Regions from separate parts of the Homo sapiens genome. Here all the other regions are linked to region 2. Evidence: promoter capture Hi-C in human tissues and cell types (Jung and others, 2019). All regions are on one chromosome and are shown on one strand. The core of a region is centred on a gene start or on the middle of the fragment in contact, and the rest is flanking DNA. Distances in the headings are between cores, read along the strand shown.

Region 1 (3,707 bases), core at 802-3,301, 340 kb after region 2:
GAAGTTCAAGAAGTCAGCATTCCCAGAGGCAGGTCAGCTTGCTTTCATTCTGTCGTACTCGGTTTCCTTACTTTCCTCCTAACACGTTACCTCTGAAGCAAATGTTCCCGAGCACTGTCCCCTTCTAGAAAGACCTTGTATGAGAACCTTATCTTTGCACAGAGTGTGGAGACCGCCATTAGGGCAGACGGGATGGATTTGACCAACCCAGGTCACAAACCAGTGATGATGGAGAGGAGAATTCCACGAGTTAGCCAGGGCGCAGCGGGACAGAGGGAACCTGGCTCCTTACTTACAACAGCTTCTTGGAGCAAGGAATCTTGGACAAAAAAATAAAAGCATTAGATCGGTTCAAGGCTATTTGTTCAACTCCACATCTAACTCTGCTCTGGGTCCCAGAGACACCAACGTACACAAGATTCACTTCTTATGTCCCAGGAGCCCATGGTCTACCCAGGAAAGCAGAGAGGAGAAAGAAGACCTGTTCTGTGAGGCTGAATAATTGAGCTGTGGGTAGGAACCTGAAGAGAGCAGAGCCAGGGCAGACCCCAAGGAGGGGAACTGAGCTGAGCCTGGCAAGATGAACCCCAGCTTGCCCTCCTCCATTGAGTGTGGTGAGGAGGCCCACAAAGGGCCTAGAAATGTTCATCATGGAGCTTGGGAGAGAGGGAGAGAGGGGCCGCTCAAACTGTGTATGTTGGTATCACCATTATAATTGCCTACACTTTACAAAAAGGCAAAACTGTTCAAAACTGTCACTTTCTGAAAAGGTGACAGAATTCAGAGGTGGAGACTCCACCCAAGTACCGTCAGGCACAGCTGCTGCTGGGAAGCCTCTCCAAAATGAGTTGAAGGCCACAGGCCTTGGATGCTGGGCAGATAGCAGAGACTGCTGGGCACCCCGGTGCCACAGAGTGCAAGAAGGTTCTCCCCCAACAGCCCCTTCCACGAACACCCTGGCACCTGCCCTGCATGGTCCTGCTTCTAGGAACTTTCTTTCTTTTTTTTTTTTTTTTTAGACAGAGTCCTACTCTTGTTGCCCAGGCTGGAGTGCAGTGGCACTGTCTCGGCTCACTGCAACCTCTGCTTCCTGGGTTCAAGCGATTCTCCTGCCTCAGTCTCCCAAGTAGCTGGGATTACAGGTGCCCGCCATCAAGCCCATGTGTCTCTGTGTTGTCATTTAATGTCAGTGCAAGGACTCTGATCAGCTATATTGAAATAATATATTACATATAATAATATTGAAATAGTTATCATGGGAATGTAGAAAATCACTTGTTTTCTTAATCAAAGGTTTAAAATGCTTTTGGAATTATTTTAATAAGTATTATTTTTACCCATTTCAGAGTCTTATAGAGAACAAATCTACAGCAGCCCTGGGGCTCCTCAGGGAGAACAGCGATGGGTATTTTGGGAGGGGCCTCATGGTGGCCCCACAGGCTGAGGAGCGAGCTGTCTGATTAGTGCATTTGGAGAAGGGGTGAGCATTCTCAGCTGAGAGCCTCTTGCTTTTGGGGAGTGTTTTGACTAATAGTGGCCAATTATTCACACCATGATAAAAAATATCAGTCATGATAGATAGCAAGCTCTTCTCGTGTTCACGACTCGGAGTGAGGTAGCGTTCTGATTCTCTTCCCTTTGTTACCAGAAAAGGGTCCCAATCCAGACCCCAAGAGAAGGTTCTTGGATATCACACAAAAAAGAATTCGGGGTGAGTCCATACAGTAAAGTGAAATCAAGTTTATTAGGAAAGTAAAGGAATAAAGAATGGCTGCTCGTGGACTGCTCAGCTACTTGTACTTACTGTTACTTCTTGGTTATGTGCTAAACAAGGGGTGGGTTATTCATGAGTTTTCCAGGAAAGAGGTGGGCATTTCCTGGGACTAAGGGTTCCTCCCCTTTTTAGACCATGAAGGGTAACTTCCTAACATTGCCATGGCATTTGTAAACTGTCATGGCGCTGGCGGGAGGGTCTCTTAGCATGCTAATGCACAAAAATTAATATATAATGAGCCGTGAGGATGACCAGAAATCACTTTCGTCACCATCTTGGTTTTGGTGGGATTCGGCCAGCTTCTTTACAACATGCTATTTTATCAGGAAGGTCTTTGTGACCTGTATCTTGTGCCAACCTCCTATCTCATCCTGTAACTAAGGATGCCTTAACCTCCTGGGAATGCAGCCCAGTAGGTCTCAGCCTTATTTTACCCAGCTCCTGTTCAAGATGGAGTTGCTCTAGTTTGAATGCCTCTGACACCTTGAATTCATTTTTGGGTCTGAAATGGACACTGTGAGCTGGCCAAAGAGGGGAACTGGGTACCTACTTACTGATTGAGTTTCAAAGGAGAGCTCTTAACTTCATGAGAAATGCATCCTAATCTCCCACATTAATGAGATGCTTCCAAGAATGATTATACTCCTTGATTATTGATTAATAGATTGACGCAGCCCAGAATGAGGTCTCTAGGGACACAGTGCAGGGCTCAGATATCTAAGGTCCCGTAACCCCTCTGAGAATGTAGTATCGCAGAAGTGTGTTCTGTTAATCAGGGTGGGCCAAGGGCACAAGTAATCCCCAAAGCTCAGGGGGCAAACACAAAAAGTGGCTCCCTTGAGTTCAGAGGTCAGGTGGCTCTCCTCCTGCAGCAACTCAGGAATCCAGTATGCTTCCCTCTCACAGATCTGCCATCTGGAAGTTATTTGCTAACAGCCCCTGATGAGAGAGCAAAAGTGTGAAGAGCTCACACCTGCTCTAACACGTTGAACTGATAGCAACCATCACTTCCACTCACATCCATATTGGCAAGAACTCAGTCACATGATCTCACCCTAGCAAGGGCTACTGGGAAACGGAGTCTTCCTGTGCACCCAGGAAGAAGAAATGGCGTAGTGAATGGGAAACAATCCCCAGGCCCCGTGTAAGTAGAAAGCAATTGTCTTCATTGTGTTTAATTGTACTAAGGCCTATCAGGAGATTCACAAAGCTTCATAAAACCAACTTTTTTTTTTTTTTTTTTTGAGACAGGGTCGTACTCTGTCATCCAAGCTGGAGTGCAGTGGTGCAATCATGGATCACTGCAGCCTCAACCTCCCAGGCTCAGGTGATCCTCCCACCTCAGCCTCCCAGTAGCTGGGACTACTACGGGTGTGCGCCACGGTGCCTGGCTAATTTTTGTATTTTTTGTAGTGATAGGGGTCTCACTATGTTTCCCAGGCTGGTCTTGAACTCCTGGGCTCACACAATCTACCAGCCTTAGCCTCCCAAAGTGCTGGGATTACAGGTGTGGGCCACTGCACCTAGCCTCAACCCTCTTTGTGTAAGACAAGTAACTTTGCTCAAGATGAATCCTTAGTGGACAAAAATTTCCCTCTTGTCAGTTCTCTGCTTATATAGTTGCTTATTTCTAAGTCTGACTCAGGCAAGAGGTTTGGCCCCCCACAAGTAGAAACTAATGGGAGTGTTGTCATTGGAACATCTGCACGTGAAAATGTGTTGGTGGTAAAGGGATGGGAAACGTGTGTTGCCAAGGAGTTCCCAGCACCTGAAAGAAGCAGAAAGTGTGTGGCAATTAATTGTCCTATAAAGGTTGGAAATTGTATAAAGCAAAAAAATTAAAGTTTAAAAAATTTTAATAATTATTTTAAATACCTGAACAAGTCCCCAGAATAAAAACTTATGGTTGTCTTAAGAAACACCCTTGCAGTAG
Region 2 (3,696 bases), core at 615-3,114:
GTCAGGAGTTCAAGACCAGCCTGGCCAACATAGTAAAACCCTGTCTCTACTAAAAATACAAAAATTAGCCAGGCATGGTGGCACACACCTGTAGTCTCAGCTACTCGAAAGACTGAGGCACGAGAATTGTTTCAACACAGAGGCAGAGGTTGCAGTGAGCCAAGATGGTGCCACTGCACTTCAGGCTAGGCGACAGAGCAAGATGGAGTCTCAAAAAAAAAAAAAAAGAAAGAAAATCAATATATCAAAGAGATATTTGCACTCCTATGCTTATTGTAGCACTGTTCACAACAGTCAAAATATGGAATCAACCAAAATGTTCATCAATGGATGACTGGATAAATAAAATGTAAATATACACAATGAATACTATTCAGCCATAAAAAATAATAAAATCCTATTTGCAACAACATTGATGGAACTGGAGGTCATTATGTTAAGTGAAACAAGCCAGGCAAAGAAAGACAAGCATCACATGATTTCACTCATAAATGGGAAGTTGAAAAGTGGATATCATGAAGATAAGTTGGTGGTTACCAGAGGCCAGGAAGGGTAGCCAGGAGAAGGGGATGAACAGGGTGATTAATAGGTACAAAAATTGGTAGAAGTGCTGGGCAAGGTGTCAAGAGCCCCAGCATCAGAAAGTGGTCGACTTGCTGGTTGGTAAGAAGAATTTATCGACAACAATATAGGTTTGAAAAAGGAAAGTTTTATTAGAACGCTGCAGAAGAGTGCAGCCTCAGCAAGAGAGAACTGAGCATGCCGCGGTGGATTTTTCATGTCCCTTTTCGAATGTCTCATTTTTTGCAAATTCAATCCAAGTTGCGTTCATTTAGCCAGGATCCTTCTAAGCTCATTCAAGAATTTTGGGCTTTAACTATTTCCTTTGATTTAACCTGGTACCAGGTGCCAACTTTAGATAATAGGGATATCTAATTACTTCTAAATTCCTCAGATAAGGGGCCTGCTTGATGGTCACCAGGTGATCTGTGCTCTCCTTAAGAGGGAATAAGACCTAGCGTTGGCAGAGTTCTGTAGGGTGACTATAGTTAACAGTAATCTGTTGTATATTTTAAAATGTTATTATTGAAGAGAGTAACTGGAATGTTCCCAGTATAAAGACAAATGTTTAAGGTGATAGAGATCTCATTTACCCTGATTTAATCATTACACATTATATGAAAGTATCAAAATACCACATGTACCCAGAAAACACATACGTCTCTTACATATCAATAAATACAACTTGAGATTATGATGTAAATACATCTGACCAACTTGGTACTTATTAGACTTATGTGCGCAGCACTGCTCTAGTCCTGTGGGTGCAGCAGCATCAGGATCGTTAAAGAAAACAAACAATGCTGAGAAAAAAACTCACACCCCTGAGACATCCGGGTGTGAATAAATGCGGCAGAGTCGCCCGAGATCGGGAGACCAGGCGTGGGGGAGAGGTCCGGGAGGCCTGGACCAGAGTCCTAACAGACCAGAGGCGAAACGGGAAGGCGCGCCAGAAAAGGAACAACGCAAAGGGAGCAGGCGTGCACGGAGCGCGAACTAAGGAACCCCTCTGACAACCCCAGTCCCTCGGCAGTTCCAGAGACCGGCTCCTCACGGAGGGTGGCGGTAGAGACTGTTAAGCCCCGCGGGCGCCGGGGCAGGCCGGACTGTGCCATTCGTGGGGGGTACCATGTGGGACCGAGCCGCCTCACCCAGGGCTGTCCAGCTAGAAACTCCCCGGTGCCACCCCCGCCTCAGTCCGAGGTAGACTCGGCCGGACGTGACGCAGCGTGAGGCCAAGGCGGCGTGAGTCTGCGCAGTGTGGGGCTGAGGGAGGCCGGACGGCGCGCGTGCGTGCTGGCGTGCGTTCATTTTCAGCCTGGTGTGGGGTGAGTGGTACCCAACGGGCCGGGGCGCCGCGTCCGCAGGAAGAGGCGCGGGGTGCAGGTCAGCGCCAGCGGGGGCGCGGCGCATGTGTGGGCCGTGGCGCTGGGCGGCGTGGGGGTGCTGGACGGTGTCCCTGTGCTGGACGGTGTCCCGCTGGCTCAGAACCGGCGCGGGGCCTGGGTCGGGGCCGCCCTCGCTTCCGGCCTCCCAGTCGGGCCCTGTCGCTGGCGTTGGATTTGACTGACCGCCAGCGTGGTGGCAACGCTGAAGCGTCCAGAATCTTCTGCCTAACCTCTCGCCGGCATGGAACTGGCTAGCCGTTTTATTAAACTCTGTTTTGCGTGGACGGTAAACCCTCCAGATAATCTGTAAATAGGCTAAAAAAAATTCGGAACCTCGTTGAGCTGCTGTCGTTGGCAGTGAGAACTCCGCGCAGAGAGACAGATGTAGTTGGGTTGACTTCAGTGAGGGGATTTCCATCTTTCTCAGTCATTAAAAAAAGTGTTCAGACATTTAACACTGTTGACCCCCACACACAATTTTTTAGTACAGTTATAACTAAGAAAACAAAAATCCCCTCCAAAAAATTACAAGTTAATTGCGAAAGACCACATTTAAATTTTTGCCCATGAAATTCAGTTTAGTCGTTTCTCTGAAACAGTGCTTCAAAAAAGACTGTTTCCCCGCATTGTGTGAAATGCAGGAGACCCACGTACTTGTATTTTTAAAAAACCCATTTGCAACATACTATTAAAGTTGGATTTAAGAGAACATGGTAGAAGAAAATCTAAGCAATACTACACCTTTTAGCACCCTCATTATGTTTTCATCTCAGAGCAATTAAAACTGCTATACAAATCAACGTTAAGATAACTAAACTGCTGCTTTTTTCGTATTCAGTTGTCTATGAAAACCGTTTCCCTAGGAAGTACTTACTCTGCTTGAAAATGCTCCTAAACTTTAAATTTTGGGGTATCTCAGGGTTGCAATGAAAGTTTTTTGAAATCTTTTTTTTTTTTTTTTTTTAAGGCTTGTAAACATATAACATAAAAATGGCTTCCAAAAGAGCTCTGGTCATCCTGGCTAAAGGAGCAGAGGAAATGGAGACGGTCATCCCTGTAGATGTCATGAGGCGAGCTGGGGTAAGTCCCACATCGATTTTTAGCCATTCCTGTTTTAAATGTTTTTGGATTTTTAAATCATTTTGAATAAAATATTCAAAGTGCTCTATGAAATATTTCAAATATACACAAAATTTCAGAGATGACATAAGAATAAATACCTGTTGATCCACTGCTCACATTTAACGCTTGTTAATGTCTTGCCATATTTCCTTCAGACCCATTTCTCTTTTGTTTTGAGCTCTGTCGTCCAGGCTGGAGTGCGATGGCAGGATCTTGGCTCATTTCGGTCTCTGCCTCCTGGGCCCAAACCATCTTCCCACCTCAGCCTCCCAAATAGCTGAGACTACAGATGCGTGCCACCACACCTGGCTAATTTTTGTATGTTTTGTAGAGACAGGGTTTTGCCATGTTGCCCAGGCTGCTCTCCAACTCCTGAGCTCAAGTTGTCCACCCGCCTCAGGCCTCCCAAAGTGTTAGGACTACAGGCGTGAGCCACTGCACTGTCCTTAGACCCATTTCTTTTTTCTTCTTTTTTTTTTTTTTTGAGATGGTGTCTCTCTGTGTCGCTCAGCCTGGAACGCAGTGGTGTGATCTCTGCTCGCTGCAACCTCTGCCTCCCGGGTTCAAGAGATTCTCCTGCCTCACCCTCAGCTGGGATTACAGGTGTCCGCCACCACGCCCGGCT
Region 3 (3,433 bases), core at 353-2,852, 490 kb after region 2:
TCAGCTTCAAGGGAGATCCCAGAACTTTCAGTAACAAAAGGACACTGTGTGTGTGTGTACGCACACATGCATGTGTACACGTGTGTTTTCAAATTTCTTAAACAGGAATGACTCTGTTAGCTTTAGATAAATCATGTGGCCAATTTTTCACCTGGGAAGTGAAAGGATGGGGCAGGCAGCAGACCAAGATGGGCTTAATCCTGACCTCCTGTCAAACACAGCTGCCAGCACCTCAGAATTTTCCCCTTCCCTTTCCTTCTCCTTTTCCTATAATTTTTTAGATTAAAAAAAAAAACTTAAGACTTGCTGGGTGTGGTGGCTCACGCCTGTAATGCCAGCACTTTGGGAGGCCGAGGCAGGTGGATCACAAGGTCAGAAGTTCGAGACCAGCCTGGCCAACATGGTGAAACCTCATCTCTACTAAAAATACAAAAATTGGCTGGGCGTGGTGGTGTGAGGATGTAATCCCAGCTACTTGGAAGGCTGGGGCGGGAGGATCGCTTGAACCTGGGAGGTGGAGGTTGCAGTGAGCCAAGATCGCACCACTGTACTCCAGCCTGGGCGACAGGGTAAGACTCTGTTTCAAACAAACAAACAAACAAACAACAAAAAAAAACCCCCACAAAACTGAAGACTCAAGAAGGGGAGTGGGGAGATCATACTTTCTTGAGGCCACACAGGTGGCAGCCAATCTGAGTACTGATACCCACACCTCTGACTCTCAGGCCAGTTTTCTCTCCACAAACCACCAGGCCTGTTTTTCCTGCTTCTGCCCACCAACCCACCCCAAAAATGAGTTTTCCATATAGGAAAGAGAAGAGCCTGGCTTATCTTCTTCAGGAGGTAACTGTGCCTTCCCCAGAGAGCTCAGGTGCCAGGACGTCAGCAGCCCTCAGACAGCAGAGCCAGGAGGGACACGGGGCAGTGGTGACGAAGCTGTTCAGGGCAACTCTGGGCATCCTCCTATTTTCAGAATAACAATCTTCCTGGTGTTCTTAGCAGCATGATTCCTTTTTTTATTATTATTTTTTATTTTTTAGAGACAGGGTATCGCTCTGTCACCCAGGCTGGAGTGCAGTGGCGAGATCACAAGGGAGCACGATTCCTGAACTGGGGGAACAGTGCTGAGTTGTATGGGAAGGTGTGTTAGAACAGCCAGATTCACCTGTGCTGCCCACTGAGCTCTTTCCTTCTCCATCACTCATTCTCCCATAATAGAACATCTCAACCACACGTATCATCAGTACACATCAGGTGATGTTGGCAATGAACGAGTTTTTTTAATTGGAATTTAGAAAATAAAACCACAAACTGGAAGGAGTTGGTTGCTCCTTCCAAAGCAAGCTACTGAGAGGAAAAGAACAGGGACACATCCAGTTAATTAATTCTCCCTAGACGGTGGCAGCTCAAGAGCTCAGCCAAAGAGGTCACTGCACTGAAGCAATGTGAGGTTTCTCTTCTGTTCCACCCACTCAAATGATATTTTCTTATTATCAATCCTGCTCCAGGTGCTGGGCCAGGTTCTGTGAATACAAAAAGAATTAAACTACAACCCTGCCCTCAAGACTTCCTAGTTTTGTGTGGAGGCACCTAAATGAACTTGTCAAACCAACCTGGTGCAGCAGGGCCTGCAAAATGCAGTGACGTCCCGGCCTTCATCAGTCATGGGCCACTCCTCATTCTAAAGTGCCTCGTGAGCACCCTAACCTCTCAGAAGAACGAGTGTTGGGGAAAGAAGAATATCAGAACACTACTAGGGAACATTAAGCTTGGCCCAGCATTCTAGTTAGTCAGTGCACGTAGCATCCATCCTCCAGACATTAAGAATAATCACCACAGGCCTAGAGCAAGCAAATGCCGGCCGACAAGGGAAGCTGGCCTCTTCTGTCAAACAGCAGTATTAGAGGGACTCTCCCCTGAGCTGAGTCTCAAAGCCAGGGTATTTGACTCAAGAAAGGAAGATTTTTGAGATGACTCTTTTCATTAGGTGTTATAATTCAGAGCATGACATCTACAGTTTTAAGTTTTCCACAGTGTTCACTTCCTGAATTAAAATTTGTCAGGACAGGCTGATAACAAGAGTAATGACTGCTCCAAGATAGAGGTAGAGCAGGTACACTTTTCTTTCCAGGTATTTTCTTGCTCCTACTCAGGAAAAACAGCTCCTCTCACAAATGCTGAATTTATAGTAAACTTATGTAGTAAATATTGTCTAAACCAGTTACAAAACAAAAACGCTTCAATCTTGACACAATGAGCAGCTGCAGAAGTCAGAGGAATGCATGACTCAGAGTCCTACATAACTGAAGCCGTAAAAACACTGTTATGAGAGATACAATGTTAGGAGAAAACAGAACAGCCCTCAAGAATTCCTCATTAATTTGATAATGTAATTTAACTGTGAGGTACAAAATAGGAGTGAACATCTCTGGTCTAAGATCCTGGTGGCCTTCCGACTTCATCTTCTCCATCCACTCCGGGGCATCTTTGCTCTTCCTGGAACACACTCAGGCATGCTCCCACCTCAGGGCCTTTGCACTGTTTCCTTGGCCCAGAATTCTCTTCCCCTATGTATCTGCAAGGCTAGCTTCCTCACTTTTTAAGGTCTTTACTCAAAAGTGAACTCTCCATGGCTACCTTAAGAAAAAGTTCAACCCCTCTACCTGGTATTTCCTATCACTTTCCTGCTTTTAATTTTTTCAGGACTAACACACTATACATGTCACTTAGCAAGACTGTTTTAATCTATCCTCCTTCCCCACTACAATCTCAACTCCATGAAGGCAGAGAATTTTGTCTGTTTTGTTCACTGCTGTATCACCTGGCAGAGTGTCAATGCTCTACCAATATTTCCAGAATGAAAGAATGAATGAATTTCAACTAGTGAGCTAAAATCAGAACTGAATGAGAAACTTGGTAAGTAGGAAGGAATCATTCTATCTTCATGTTCACACAGTCAACAATCACAGGAAGAGCCAAACCGACACCAAACTCCTCTGCAAGGAATGCAGAGCCAGACAGACAGATCCTGAGGCCCCATGCTCAGGTGGTGAGGCCAATATCAGGCACTGTCTTTCTCCCCTTATAACCACCAAACACATGCTGCTTCCTGATAGCTCAGTACTTTGCCTCATAAATGTGGAAAACACACTAGAATTCACCTATATAAAGGTACTTCGGAAAAATGTCTTAAGGCAAGTGCAAAAACAAAATCAAATCTAAGTGTCAATTAGTTGCATGCAGGGTGTTAGGAAAAGAATAACAAAACACTACTAGAGAAGATACAAAATAGGCTGGCACTCTAGTGAAGATGGCAATTAGGGGGCTACCAAGGCCATCACTACTTCTACCTAAGGGAGACTTACTTACTTACTTTATATATTTATTTATTTATTTTTTTGAGACAGAGTCTTGCTCTGTCACCCAGACTGGA

What was found. Contacts are between HindIII fragments. The study calls those that stand out against the background at their distance.
Region 1: a contact is called between a fragment that was not itself captured here and the fragment with the promoter of PARK7 in region 2, in 2 of the 25 tissues and cell types used here (heart right ventricle and mesenchymal stem cells).
Region 3: a fragment that was not itself captured here is called in contact with the fragment with the promoter of PARK7 in region 2 in 3 of the 25 tissues and cell types used here (aorta, lymphoblastoid cells and spleen).

The regions. Positions count from the first base shown.
Region 1 is chr1:8,294,661-8,298,367 of GRCh38, forward strand. LINC03154 (long intergenic non-protein coding RNA 3154) reads left to right here. Exons shown (of 2, transcript XR_007065454.1): 2 at 1-1,789. Among named protein-coding and RNA genes, the nearest start is that of SLC45A1, 22 kb to the right of the region's middle. The HindIII fragment of the contact is 7,461 bases long and covers 1-3,707 here.
Region 2 is chr1:7,959,847-7,963,542 of GRCh38, forward strand. It overlaps PARK7 (Parkinsonism associated deglycase), which reads left to right and starts at 1,865. Exons shown (of 7, transcript NM_007262.5): 1 at 1,865-1,947; 2 at 2,917-3,029. The coding sequence starts at 2,940. RefSeq lists enhancers at 933-1,716, 1,416-1,515, 1,717-2,500, 1,896-1,945, 2,146-2,195 and 1 more and a silencer at 1,666-1,765. The HindIII fragment of the contact is 29,789 bases long and covers 1-3,696 here.
Region 3 is chr1:8,454,221-8,457,653 of GRCh38, forward strand. All of the region lies in intron 11 of RERE (arginine-glutamic acid dipeptide repeats), which reads right to left. Among named protein-coding and RNA genes, the nearest start is that of RERE-AS1, 31 kb to the left of the region's middle. The HindIII fragment of the contact is 5,753 bases long and covers 1-3,433 here.